Regions from separate parts of the Homo sapiens genome. Here region 1 is linked to region 2. The links are contacts of gene promoters, found by promoter capture Hi-C in blood cells and fetal thymus (Javierre and others, 2016). All regions are on one chromosome and are shown on one strand. Each heading gives the region's core, a stretch centred on a gene start or on the middle of the fragment in contact. The rest is flanking DNA. Distances are from core to core; before and after follow the strand shown. Region 1 holds the start of PLK4 (polo like kinase 4). Region 2 holds the start of HSPA4L (heat shock protein family A (Hsp70) member 4 like).

What was found. Contacts are between HindIII fragments. The CHiCAGO score rates a contact against its expected background, and 5 or more counts as called.
Region 1: a contact is called between a fragment that was not itself captured here and the fragment with the promoter of HSPA4L in region 2, in 1 of 17 cell types (megakaryocytes). The highest score is 7.1, in megakaryocytes.

What each region holds. Positions count from the first base shown.
Region 1 is chr4:127,876,645-127,883,480 of GRCh38, forward strand. PLK4 (polo like kinase 4) reads left to right here and starts at 4,249. Exons shown (of 16, transcript NM_014264.5): 1 at 4,249-4,520; 2 at 5,187-5,282; 3 at 6,618-6,713; 4 at 6,795-6,836. The coding sequence starts at 4,491. RefSeq lists an enhancer at 4,333-4,572. The HindIII fragment of the contact is 1,908 bases long and covers 1,318-3,225 here.
Region 2 is chr4:127,778,421-127,785,347 of GRCh38, forward strand. It overlaps HSPA4L (heat shock protein family A (Hsp70) member 4 like), which reads left to right and starts at 3,902. Exons shown (of 19, transcript NM_014278.4): 1 at 3,902-4,237. The coding sequence starts at 4,131. RefSeq lists silencers at 3,263-3,432, 3,713-3,782 and enhancers at 3,923-4,072, 3,972-4,964, 4,573-4,652, 6,064-6,303. The HindIII fragment of the contact is 4,318 bases long and covers 111-4,428 here.

The DNA of each region.
Region 1 (6,836 bases), core at 1,022-3,521, 97 kb after region 2:
TGGATCACTTGAAGTCTGGAGTTTAAGACCAGCCTGGCCAACATGGCAAAACCCTGTCTCTATGAAAAATACAAAAATTAGCAGAGCATGGTGGCACATATCTATAATACCAGCTACTTGGGAGGCTGGGGCACAAGAATTGCTTGAACCCAGGAGGCAGAGGTTGCAGTAAGCCAAGATTGTGCCACTGCACTCCAGCCTAGGCGACAGAGGGGGACTCTGTCTCAAAAAAAAAAAAAGTTAGGCCGGACGCGGTGGCTCATATCTGTAATCCCAGCACTTTGGGAGGCGGAGGCAGGCAGATCACCTGAGGTCAGGAGTTCGAGACCAGCCTGACCAACATGGAGAAACCCCGTCTCTATTAAAAATACACAAAAATTAGCCAGGCTTGGTGGTACATGCCTGTAATCCCAGCTACTCAGGAGGCTGAGGCAGGAGAATCGCTTGAACCTGGAAGGCAGAGGTTGCAGTGAGCTGAGATCGCACCATTGCACCCCAGCCTGGGCAAAGGGCGAAACTCAGTCTCAAAGAAAAAACAAAAACTTATGAGGTAATTACATTTAGAGAATGAGGTCACAAGAACTGAGGACACAAAGGGATGAAAGTGGCCGGGCATGGTGCCTCGCACCTGTAATCCCAGCACTTTGGGAGGCTGAGGCAGATGGATCACCTGAGGTCAGGAGTTCGAGACCAGCCTGGCCAACATGGTGAAATCCCGTCTCTACTAAAAATACAAAAATTAGCTAGGTGTGGTGGCGTGTGCCTGTAATCCCAGCTACTCAGGAGGCTGAGGCAGGAGAATCACTTGAACCTGGGAGACAGAGGTTGCAGTGAGCTGAGATCGTGCCATTGCACTCCAGCCTGGGTGACAGAGCAAGTCGCTGTGTCAAAAAAAGAAAAAGAAAAGGGGTGAAAGTAAAAGCAACTAAAGAAATAGTTCCTCATCTTCCACAATAGAAAGTTAATAGAGCTAAATCTATAACTGAAAAAAATCAAAAAAGAAAATAAGCATGTTATTTAGAAATACGGTAGAATATATAAAAATGAACAGTTAAATGAATTGAAGAGGGTTGCATCTGGGAAGCAGAAATGCAGAGTTTGTATGCTTGTTATTAATATTTGTTATAAAACAATTTGATTTTTAAAATTATGTATATATGGTAACAGTGATTAAATAGAAATTTAAGGTAGTAGGAACAACTATGTGAAATTAGATTAGAATTGGTGATATCAGCTTGAACTCATGATTACTAATATTTTTTTCTTTAGTTTCATCTGCTGAAAAGGCATAGATGCAATGACACCTAAGTCGCAATAAGCTTGCTAAGCTCCCAGATATTGTTTTTTAAGCACCATTTTCTACTGTAAGGTGTCAGGACACTTTGCAGAAATGGCTCCTTTCAGTGCTGGGTGAGAGAAAGCCCAAAATAAAATTAGAACATCTTGTTGTACCAGAAAGTAAAGAACTGCTTTTATATATATATGTCCTATCAAAACAGCTAGGTTGAAAGGAGCTCTCACTAAACAAATCTCAGACACTTTGAACACCAAAATAAGATGGTAATGGATTATAATCCTTTGAGGAAATGGATTATAACTGATTCAATAATCTGGGAATCCCTAAATTCATACTGAAAACACAGATGTTCCTTGAATTATGAGGGGGCTACATCCCAATAAATTCATCATGAGTCAAAAATATCCTAAGTCAAAAAATGCATTTAATAGCCTTATAAATACATTGTAAAGACAAAATATCATAAATTGTACCATCATAATAATAAGTTGGGGACCATCTGTATATCATTAAACAGGGCAAAATGTAGGGCTCTTCTGGTTGTTTTTTGTTTGTTTGTTTGTTTGGAGACAGGGTATCGCTCTGTCGCCCAGGCTGTGGTGCAGTGGCATGAACCTGGCACACTGCAGCCTTTGCCACCCAGGCTCAAGTGATCTTTCCACCTCAGCTTCCTGAGTGGCTGGGACCACAGGTGCAAGTCACCTCCCCTGGCTAATTTTTGTATTTTTTGTAGAGACTGTGTTTCCACTATTTTGCCCAGGCTGATCTGGAACTCCTGGGCTCAAGCGATCTGCTTGCCTCAACTTCCCAAAGTGCTGGGATCACAGACTTGAGCCACCACACCAGGCGGGGCTCATCTTTTTGGCAAAATTGTTTCTAATACATATGGAAAGAGAACAATTATCATTTTGTAACTATCATAGTAAAGACTAGTTTAGGAAAAATCAATAATACTGCTAAATTGTGAGAGAGGGGTTTGCTGAGGAGCAGAATATTTGCAGGAAATTCAAGTGTCTCCCCCATAGATTGCTTATTAGTTGCAAGTAGAAAACCAGCAATTTATACAGTGGAGAAACTGGGATCAAATTAACATCACTAATGAGAGACAAACAATATCACGTGCCTCCAAATGTGGTCTCTTGGAAAGAATATAACCTCATGTATGTAATATTACAATCAGGAATACATAACCTGAATCTAATCATGAGGAAACACGAGACAAACCCAAAGTAGGGAAGATTCTGTAAAATAACTGGCCCTTAACACACACACACACACACACACACACTCCTAAGAGTGGTGACAATGTGTTAATTTGATTGTTGTAATCATTTCACAATGTATATGAAATCATCATGCTGTACAACTTGAATAAATACAATTTTTGTCAACTATACCTCAGTAATACTGGAATGAACAAATGAACGAATGATAAATAATTGGCCTGCACTCTTCAAAAATCTCAATGTCACAAAAATACAAATGCTGAGGAACTCTTCCATATTAAAGGAAATTAAAAAGATATGGTAACTAAATACGGTATGTGATCCTGTACTAGATCTATACTGGAAGGAAAAAATGTTAAATAAAGACATTACTGGAACAATTGACAAATCGGAATATGAACTGTAGATTAGATTAAATATAAATATTGTATCAATGCTAAATATCCTTAATTTGATAAACATACAAGAGGATACCCTGGTTCTTAAGAAATTCACACTTTAGAAATAAGGGGTATAAGAGCATAGTGTATGTAACCTATTTTAGAATGATTCATAAAATACAAATAATAGGCTTATTTATATATTTATACATGTATATTACACATGAAGAATAGTAAAAACAAGTGTGGCAAAATGTTAAGAATTGGTTAATCTGAGTAAAGGACAACAGGAGTTCTCTATTATTTTTACAACTTTTCTGTAAGCTTAAAATTATTTGAAACTAAAAAGTTTAAAAAAAAAAATGGGCCGGGCATGGAGGCTCACGCCTGTATTCCTAGCACTTTGGGAAGCCGACGCAGGCGGATCACCTGAGGTCAGGAGTTCGAGACCAGCCTGGCCAACATGGTGAAACCCCGTCTCTACTAAAAATACAAAAATTAGCCAGTCGTGGTGGCGCGTACCTGTAAATCCCAGCTACCCGGGAGACTGAGGAAGGAGAATCGCTGGAACCCAGGAGATGGAGGCTGCAGTGAGCCGAGATCGAGTCACTGCACTCCAGCCTGGGCGACAGAGCGAGACTCCATCTCAAAAGAAAAAAGAAAAAGAAAAAGAAATACACACTAACATCAAGGAAAAGAGCTTTCACTTAATAACAGAAGATCTAAGTTTGTGCGCTACTTCTGTTTGTTAAATATCCTTCCTTAAGCATCACACTTTTCTCACCTGCAAAACACCATCCCAAACTTACAGAGGTCTCTTTTGATCCATACAAATTATGTGTATGAGAGATCTAACTGTAAATTATTATACAAATGACATTATAATATTAAATACTTAGGAGTTTGCCAAAATAAAGAATGGAGTTCGTTTTCTTAAGGTACCGTACACATTAACTACAGTTATAACAAACTACGGAATAAGCGGTAGTGGTGTAAACGGTGTTCCTTAAAGGAAGGTAATGTTTTTTGCCCTGTTCCGTCAAGTCTTAAACGCTTGACATTTTAAAATAGTTTTAAACCCTTTCCGGAATTAGAAGTGGTATTTCGGACCGTGAAGTAACCGATCAGCCATAAGTGTCCCATCTTTAAGGCCTGCTCTTTTACCCGTCTTGCAGAAGTTCTTCCGAGAGTGGGCCCGAGACAGCCTCCCGCCCGAACTAAACTCTCCGCAGCGCTTCCGGCCCTTGGCCCCGAAGTCTAGAACCCTGGGCCGGCCGCAAAGGAAGGTCTGCCGCGCATGCGCGCCCCGGCGCAGCCTATCCGGAGCGATCCATCTCGTTACGTCACCACCAGCCTAGCTCGGACGGCAAGCGGCGGGAGATTTTCAAAATGGGAGCCCAGAGGCACCGCCCAGGCCTCGGAAGGTGTCAGGGAGAACTTTCCGTGGTTTCAGCGTCGTCGCCTGGAGCGGCGGTTTAGAGAGCCGAGCCTGATGGGCGCCAAGGCCGGCTGGCTGCTTGGAGCGCTGCCTCGAAGGGACTGCGTGAAGGAAGCTAATCCGGAGAACCCAGGCCAGAGCCTGGAAATATGGCGACCTGCATCGGGGAGAAGATCGAGGTGAAAAGACTCGGCAGTCTGCAGCGGGGCGGGTGGGAGTAATTGTGGGAGGACACGAGACCGCTGTGGGAAGGGGAGCGAACGAAGCTAACGGCTGCGGGGCGGGCACCGAGGTGCTTAGGGAGGGTCCCAACGGCCCAGACCCCTGCTGTTTAGGGGCGGAGCGGCCCGCCCCTCAAGAGACAAGAGTAGGGAAGGCGGGACAGGTGAGTCCCTCCCCGCCCGGCAGTGTCCCGAGGCACTGCGGCTTTCTTTCAGCAATCCCGCCCGAGCTACCGCGTTAGAGCAGGGCAGGGCTACCTCCCACTTCTCCAAGGGGATGGCGGTTATCTCCGGCGGGAGCTGCGGCGGGATTCTGACCGAGCCCTCCGCTCCCGGGGATTGGCTGGAGATGGGAGGAGGGCGCTTAGGCTGCACTGAGGTTGAGGAACCAGATCACTAGGGTGCACCATCACCCTGAGCTTCCAGTCCAGCCTGGAAGCGCAGGTATCCCCGCACGGAGTCAACATGCCTTCCACCCTAGACACCTGCTGCATCGAGGTGTAATACCCGCTTGAATTTTGTCAAATTCCCCACTCGATCCATTTTATCTTCTTTTTCCAGCCCCTTCCCATCTTCCTTTCTACTGTGAGTCATCACACATAATCTTTAATTTTAACTTTTAAGGATTTTAAAGTTGGAAATCTGCTTGGTAAAGGATCATTTGCTGGTGTCTACAGAGCTGAGTCCATTCACACTGGTTTGGAAGTTGCAATCAAAATGGTAAGAATAAACTAATCAACTTCTCTCCTGTACTTTGCAAGTAACTAGAGAGGTATCAGAGATGTCAGAAACTCCTTGTCTACTAGCCTTTCCTTTGATTATAGTGTAAGGAACACTTTACATAGGCAGAAGACAATAGTGCCAAGTCCAGCCGTTGAACTTAAAAATATTTTAGGAAAGCCTTGACCTTGCTTAAGTAAGTTTTATCTTCATTAATGTTCAGTAGACCTCGTATGTGGTGTAATTATCCATACTTGGAGTAATGAGTAGAAATCAACTAACAAATAATTTGTTTATAGTTCACTGTGTATAATTTTGTATTTCCCTGTAACATACAAAATATTATTCTTGATTGTTAGAAGTCAGCCTAATAGGAGTAACATAAACATAAGCAAATTAAGAATTATTTGTCAGCCGGGTGGGTGGCTCACACCTGTAATCTCAACGCTTTGGGAGGCTGAGGCAGGTGGATCACCTGAGCTCAGGAGTTTGAAAACAACTGTGCAACATGGTGAAACCTCCTCTCTACCAAAAATACAAAAATTAGCTGCTGCTGGGCACGGTGGCTCACGCCTGTAATCCCAGCACTTTGGGAGGCCGAGGCGGGTGGATCACCTGAGGTCGGTAGTTCAAGACCAGCCTGACCAACATGGAGAAACCCCATCTCTACTAAAAATACCAAATTAGCCGGGTGTGGTGCTGCACACCTGTAATCCCAGCTACTCTGAAGGCTGAGCAGGAGAATCGCTTGAACCCGGGAGGCAGAGGTTGTGGTGAGCTGAGATCGCGCCATTGCACTCCAGCCCAGGCAACAAGAGCTAAATTCCCATCTCAAAAAAAAAAATTAGCCAAGCGTGGTGGCATGTGCCTGTGGTCCCAGCTACTCAGGAGGCTGAGGTGGGAGGATAGATTGTGCCTGGGAGGTTGAGGCTGCAGTGAACTGTGATCATGCCACTGCACTCCAGCCTAGGTGACAGTGAGACCCTGCCTTTAAAAAAAAAAAATCATTTATCTAAACCACTTAGAAAAAGAACTGGAGGTTTTGCTCTAAAATTTGCCTGAATTGGGATTTTTTTTTCTTAATAGTTAGGCTAGTTGTGCTATTAGATTATTTAAATTGAGATAGGATATTAGAATTAATTGGTCAAACTTTTACCAAGCACCCTCTCTGCCGAGCACTCTGCTAGGTGCATGGGGAAAACAGATAACAGTAGGTTGACCACAAAGACGTATAAAAGGACTTCAGTCTATTTTAAAGTATACTTTATTTTCAAAGTTCACTTTTAAGCAGTTTATATTTGAAAGTCTGTCAACATTTAAACCTGTTATTTTTAGATAGATAAGAAAGCCATGTACAAAGCAGGAATGGTACAGAGAGTCCAAAATGAGGTGAAAATACATTGCCAATTGAAACATCCTTCTATCTTGGAGGTAAGATATAAATTTTGTAGAAGTGACCAAGGACACTGAATTTTTGTATATTTTAATTTATTATGCCCTTTCACATTTCAGCTTTATAACTATTTTGAAGATAGCAATTATGTGTATCTGGTA
Region 2 (6,927 bases), core at 2,652-5,151:
TTGCCTAGAGACATACCCACAACTACATAAGATAAGGGGAGTTGCACAGACAGCTACTAATAAGAGAAACTACTCAAACAGCTACAGAGATGAGGGGAGTTTCTTATAAAAGCTTTTGAATTCAACTCTAAAAACAGCAACCCACTAGGGCTCCCCTCTACACTGTGCAGAGGTTTCTTCTTCTGCTTATTAAACTTTCGCTCCTATCTCACCCTTTGCATCCACGCTCCTTCGGTCGTGAGACAACGAACTCGGATAACACCTTAGACAACAAGACCAGTGACCATTGGCCTGTTTCATTTTATCCTCATTGCCTACTCTCCAACTTCAATTCTTTGAAAATTCAGGTAGGAATATAGCTAAAATGGTACGTAGAAGGAAATTTACAGCTTCAAGTGTATGTATTAGAAAACAAGAAACTGAAAATCAATGAACTAGAAAAGGAATAAACAAAAATAGTGAAACAAAGAGCAGATGGAACAGAAAACAAAGACAATTAAGTCAGGCAAGAAAACCAAAAGCTGGTTCTTTTAACAAACCATACTGACAGGAACCAAGAAAAGGAAGAGATTAAAATAAAGAATATTAAGAATGAAAAAGATGTACATATAACTACTGAAGAGATTTTTTTAAGTGAATAATCAACTTTGTGCCAACAAACTTGAAAACCTAGATGAAATGGTAAATTTTTAATAATACAAATAACCAATAATGATTCAAGAATAATAGAAAACATAGACCATAACCACTAAAGAAATTTAATCATTCATCATAAACCTCATAAACTCTAGGCTAAGATGGTTTACAGCCCTTTTTTTTTTTTTTTTTTTTTTTGAGACGGAGTTTCTCTCTTGTTGCCCAGGTTGGAGTGCAATGACGCAATCTCGGCTCACCACAACCTCCGCCTCCGAGGTTCAAGCAATTCTCCTGCCTCAGCCTCCTGTGTAGCTGGAATTACAGGCATGTGCCACCACGCCCGGCTAATTTTGTATTTTTAGCAGAGATGGGTTTTCGCCATGTTGGTCAGGCTGGTCTCAAACTCCTGACCTCAGGTGATCCGCCCGCCTCGGCCCCCAAAGTGCTGGGATTACAAGCGTGAGCCACCCCGCCCAGCCGGTTTACAGGCTTTTCTTACCAAAACTATCAGAAGGGAACAAAAAAGAGGAAACCCCTTTGGCTTCCTCTATGAGGCGATAATCTTGACGCCAATAAAAAGAGTAAAGAAAGAAAAAGGCCAGTTTCATTTATGAATATAGATGTAAAGATCCTTCATAAAATAATCACAAGCCAAAACAATCAGAACCATCATGGCCTTTCTGGTTTATCCCAGGGATACAAGGATGTTAGAAAACTCTAGTAACGTTATTCATTGTATTAACAAATTAAAGGGCAACAAACAGGTCATTAGATGATGGTTAACATTTGTTAAGTTTCAGTATCCACTTACAGGCGTGTGAGTGGATTTTATGAGAAAAATCTCTTAGCAAAGTAGGAATAGAAGATAATTTTGTTAACTTTCTTACATCATAAACACAAAGGTATTTAATGTTAGGGACAAGACAAGGATGCTTACCACTACTGTTTATTTTCAAAATTTTACTGGAGCACTTAAGCAACATAATCCAGGCAAAACAATAAGAAACAGAAGAAATAGAAATGAAGAAATTCATTATTTCCCAGGCCATATTGTTCTATACACAGAAAATCCAAGAAATTCTGCAAATACTTGAATTTAGAATACAGCAAGGTTGCTGGATACATGACCAATGTACATGAATCAGGATCATTCAGCAGCTAAGCATAGCTAGCATTTATTGACCGTTTGGTGCCAGGGACTGATGCAGTGCTTACATTATTTAATCATAAAAACAGCCCAGTAGGCATATTTGTCCTCATTTTAACAGACTGAACCTGTGGCTTGGAGCATTAAGTAACTTGCCAAACGTTATACAGGTAGTAAGTTAGGCAAGCCTGGTACTACAACCCAAATCTGTGTGACCCCAAAGCCCGTCATGGTTTTAACCACTGGGTACTCTCACGTCCTGCCAGTAATTGTAAGGAACGTGATGATAACACCACTTTGCTCCTGGCCTCAACTTCCTTTTTACTTTGATATTTTAAGTGGTATTTTTAATAGGAAAAAAAAAAAACATTCTTACACCCTCAAGTTGTATAGACAACATGGATAAACTAATGGAATTAAGATAAATTAATTGTACTAGGAGAATTTCAGGATATTCTGGAATAAATCTAGATAGTGATGGCCGATGTCAGAAGAGGTGTGTGAGGAGAACTGGTGGAAGTCACAGGCGCCCAGCAGGACCAGGGCCCAGGGTTCAGTCGCAGGGCAACGCCCAATCCCTGTTCTGCTCACGAGCTGCCCGCTGGGACGCCGAGTTCTGCGGTGTCTCAGAGCGCAGCTTCACCCAGGGGCTCCACGTCTCCTGAGTGCTCATGAAGGGAAGAGAGGCCTGATTGATTTCTTCAATGTAGAGACCAGAGCCCAAGCAATACTGTACAATCCAGTTGCCTCAGTATTGCCCTTGAAAATGGATTTCACGTTCATTCTAACAGCAGCAGGAACTATAGCCACCCTTGCTGCTGCTGCTGCTGTAGCAACATTATTAATAGTAAAAAATCTAAGTTATTTAAAGAAGTGGACAACTAGGGATAATCAGAATACTAAAGAATCTAGTAAACAAAACAAACAAACAAAAAAACACGCCTGTTTTCAAGATGGATACCAAAATGGAACAGGAAAACACACAAAGAATTGGATGAGAAGGAACAGAGACTAGATGAAGAGGACGGGGAGGAACAGGGAACAGACCAAGGACTGGCAGAGAAGGAACAGGGCACACACGTAAAAGTGAACGAAAAGCAACAAGACAGCCAAATTTCTTAAGTGTAACATAAAACTTGGTTAATTACAGACAGGCAACACATGCCGATCAAACCAAGAGGGAGGGCGCTGGACCACACTGGGCTCTTTTTTGAGGACCACAGGGCAGCGGCTGGAGGCTAAAGCACAGACTTGGCTGGTGTGAGTGGCACACTTAATTAAGGTCACTTTCCTGTAAAACTGGTTTCCAGAGACAAGGGTCAGCGGCGGGGCCAGCATCTTTTAGAAAGGTGTGAGGAAAGGTACGTGGAGGGAAAGTTGTCAGTGTGATCTTATTTCTTGACAGAAGTTTGACTTTTGATATTTCAAATCCTGCTGATGAAAAAAGAAAAAAACCTAACATGTGCTCATCCCGCTTTCGCACAAGAGTCTGTCCCGGGCTCGGCAGCTCCCCCGGGGCTGGACAGGGCGGAGCGGCGGACGTCGGACAATGCGCGCCACCTCACAGAGCCGGGCGCGGCGGGCCTCCAGCCACAAGGGGAGGGCGCCGGGCTGCACATGGGCCCCTCGGGGAGGCGAGGCCTGCGGGCGAGCCCTTCTGAGGGCAGGGGGTGAGGGGGCGGCGCCCGCCAGCCAGGACAGCATCCTGCCGCCGTGACAAGCACGCCTCCGGTTGCCAAAACAACCCAAAAATGTGCCTCAAAACACGTTCGCAAAGCCCCGGGCCGGCCGGTCGCCTGCCTCTCACCTAGCCCGACCGCCCGACGTCCTACTGCCGAGCGAGGGCGAGCAAGCCAATGTGCCTAGCCTCCTTTCCCCGATCCTCCCCGCCCCGCCTTCCCGCTTCTCCCGCCCCCGGATAGCTCAGCAGCCTCCATTTTCCAGATCTTTCTCGAACCCGCAGCTTCTTGGGCAGCCGTTGCCCGAGTGCTGACGGAAGCGGCCGAAGTCCGGGCCCGGAGCTGGCTCGGGCGCGGAGCGGAGGCTCGCGCGCCTCCCGGGCAGCCGAGCGCGCAGGCGCAGGTCCCAGTAACCGCCGGTTGGAGGCGGCCGAACCGCAGTAGGGAAAGACCCAGGCTGCGGGACGCGGTGCAGGCTGCGGCGCTGACGGCCTCTGCTCCTTCCGCGGGTTTCCGACTCCCTGCCCTAGATTTTCTGCTTAGCGACTTGGGGTCCCCTCTCGTTTGCTTCTGGTAGGAGTCGCAATCCCAGCAGCAATAGCCCAGAAGAGGACACGGTTCCCGTACCGAAGGGTTCAGTACCAGCAGCCCGACCATCACGCGGCGGGATGTCTGTGGTTGGCATTGACCTCGGCTTTCTCAACTGCTACATTGCTGTCGCGAGAAGTGGCGGCATCGAGACCATCGCCAATGAGTACAGCGACAGGTGTACCCCGTAAGTGCCTCTGCTGAGCATCACCTCGACCCTAAGAAACGTTTTTCTCTCCCGTCCTTAACGTTTGTCCTGTCTGCTCGCTTCCTCGGATTTTCCCCTAACGTGCGCCGAACCCCGAGATGACAGGTGCAACCCGTCAACCGCAGTCCCTAGAGACCGCCGGGTGGCAGTCGGACTTCCTCGCCCCGCAAAGCTTCTTTTCCTTCAAGGACGAGGGACCGCACTAGTTTGCGCAGCTCTCTTTTCTGTACCTACGCACGTCCCCTGCCTCGTGCCGCTGTCCCCCAACGCCTCTTTTGCTTGCGAGGAAGAGGTTGCTGTGGGACAGCCCCTGGCGTCCGGAATATTGAGAAAGATCTCCGGTTGCCTCTAACGAGGTTTACGTGGGATTATCGGCCCCGCGCCAGCTGCCCTCCTTCCTTTCCCCGTCCCTCTGGGTGACAGCTTTTTCTCAGAAAAGTAAAAAGTCAGCTTCGGCTGCACACGTCAGAGATGAATTGCAGGTTCATCTGGCCCCGAAAGCCTTTTTTTTTTTTTTAAGGGCGGGGAGTGAGGCATGTGGGGTTTTACAAAACCCAGTGCCCTTGAGAACTGCAGGTAATGGAGCCGGTTTACAGGGCCAGGTCAATGGTGCATTGATAGGGAGAGCCTCGGGATGGGAGTCACTGGCCTTGTGCATTGGTAACTACGTCAGTTGCTGGAATGCGGCGGGGTTGGGTCGGACCAAAAGCGTGTTTCTGCAGAGTGAATTGCCGGAGTCGGGGGCAGCTGTCCCGTATAAACATGACTGTGGAGTGATTCTATTATGAACGCTTAATGAAAGGCTTAGGAGGAGCGGCGTTATGTCATGGAAACATGTTTCCACATGTTCCGTTGTTTCTCTGGCCTGGGAAGTTTGTTGGCAAGGAATATAATGAAGTAATTCTGAAATATGAAAAACTAGTTGCTGCTTATAGGCTGCTGTTACTGGTAATTTTATGAGGAAACCAACTGTATGAAACCTATATTACTTTTTATGGAAAGGTAATTTGGCATCTTAATTTGACCGTTCTGAATGGTCCAAAATATAATACCTTAACTATACTAAAACAAGGTCAGTGTCCAATGGTCTTTAAATGCCTCATTTACTATTCTATGGAAAGCTTTAAAATATGGCAAAAAGATGTTGAAGAGTAGCTCACTTGAAGCAGTCTGTGCTTTGATTTCTTTCCAAGAAGATTCTAGAAGGTTTTATACCTTTTTTCGTAGATGTACACGTTTCTTCTATTGAAATTTTAAACGTTTTGGACGTTTATATTTTCAATACATGGGCATAGATAAGGTAATCCTCAATAATGTTTGAACTCTTCTACTTTTTACATCTTTTTCTGGCTTTTATGCACAGTGAGAGGCCGAAACAGTAACTGTGAAGTCGATGAATTCGTCTCTACAAGGTTTTATATTAAGCCACAACAAATACTGGCTTTCGCCAGAAACAGACCGGAAATTCCACTCTCCACCTTCAGCAGAGTAGGGGTTAAAAATGGGAGCAATCTTTGGCTTCATTGACTCTCAACCTATAGAGAAAAAACTGAGAGGTAGGGTGGACATTCTTTTAGTCCTTAAAGCCATATCCTAAAAGATCAGAAACCAGAACAGTAAGAAAGATCGATCTGCATTTCCAGGCTGAGAAATCTCTTTAGCAGTGAGTGAACCTGTGATTCTTTAAAGATCCTGGCCGGCCAGACTTAGTTCTTTAAAAAGTGGGCTTCTAGAGTCTTCTAAAAGTCTCTTTGTTATTGTACTTAGGCATATTCGCTGGTTCTGTGTGGTTGAGAAGTAATGTGATATTTCTGATTTGTGTGCTAGAAAGCCAATAGTAATATCTAGATTTAATGAGCCTAATCTAAACTAGAAAGTTCTTAAAAAGTGAAAGGATATTCTCACTTAGCTTGCATCAGCAACTCTTCTCTCCATGGCTGGGCACTGTCACTTACCTCAGAAGTGTATCTTTTGTTGTTTCTGAACAAAAGTACTTCATGGTAGTGTAGTGCTCTTACACTATGTATTACTTTGTGGGTCCAATTGTTGAGGAAAAACATAGCCCTTCCGGGCCTCAGGACATTTATCCATCAATTCAACACCGATCATGCAAAAAGCATTGTAACTATTAGATAACCTTTAACTTCTCTAATACACCACAGTATTTAATAACACACATAAATAAAATGTTAGCTTTGCAAATAAAATGTTTTTCATATTCCAATTGCTTACATCAAGGTAATGTGACATATTTTCTAAGATGTGAATACATTATAAAATGATCCTATGAAAAGAGGAAAGAAATGTTCAATTTAGTTGTTTTCAGCATTCATACATTTTACGTTTCTTTCATTAACATATTTGATTGCTTATGGTTGAGAGGATTCCATATAAACCAAGAAGGACAGTTTAATGAAAAAGAACCAAGTTTTGGCCTATAATTAAGGGACAAAAGACAAGTTAATTTAACCTATTTAATTCAGATTCACCTTCTGTAAAGTTAGAGTGTTTATACTAGCCTCTCATCTCCTGCATAAGTTGAAGAGGGAGAGAGAAATTAACCTGCATAAATTGAAGAGACAAAATAATTTTCCTGAACATCTTATTGAAAAATTATTACATAATAATATGTGCTCATTATAAAAAATACTGGCACATTAAAAGGTGAA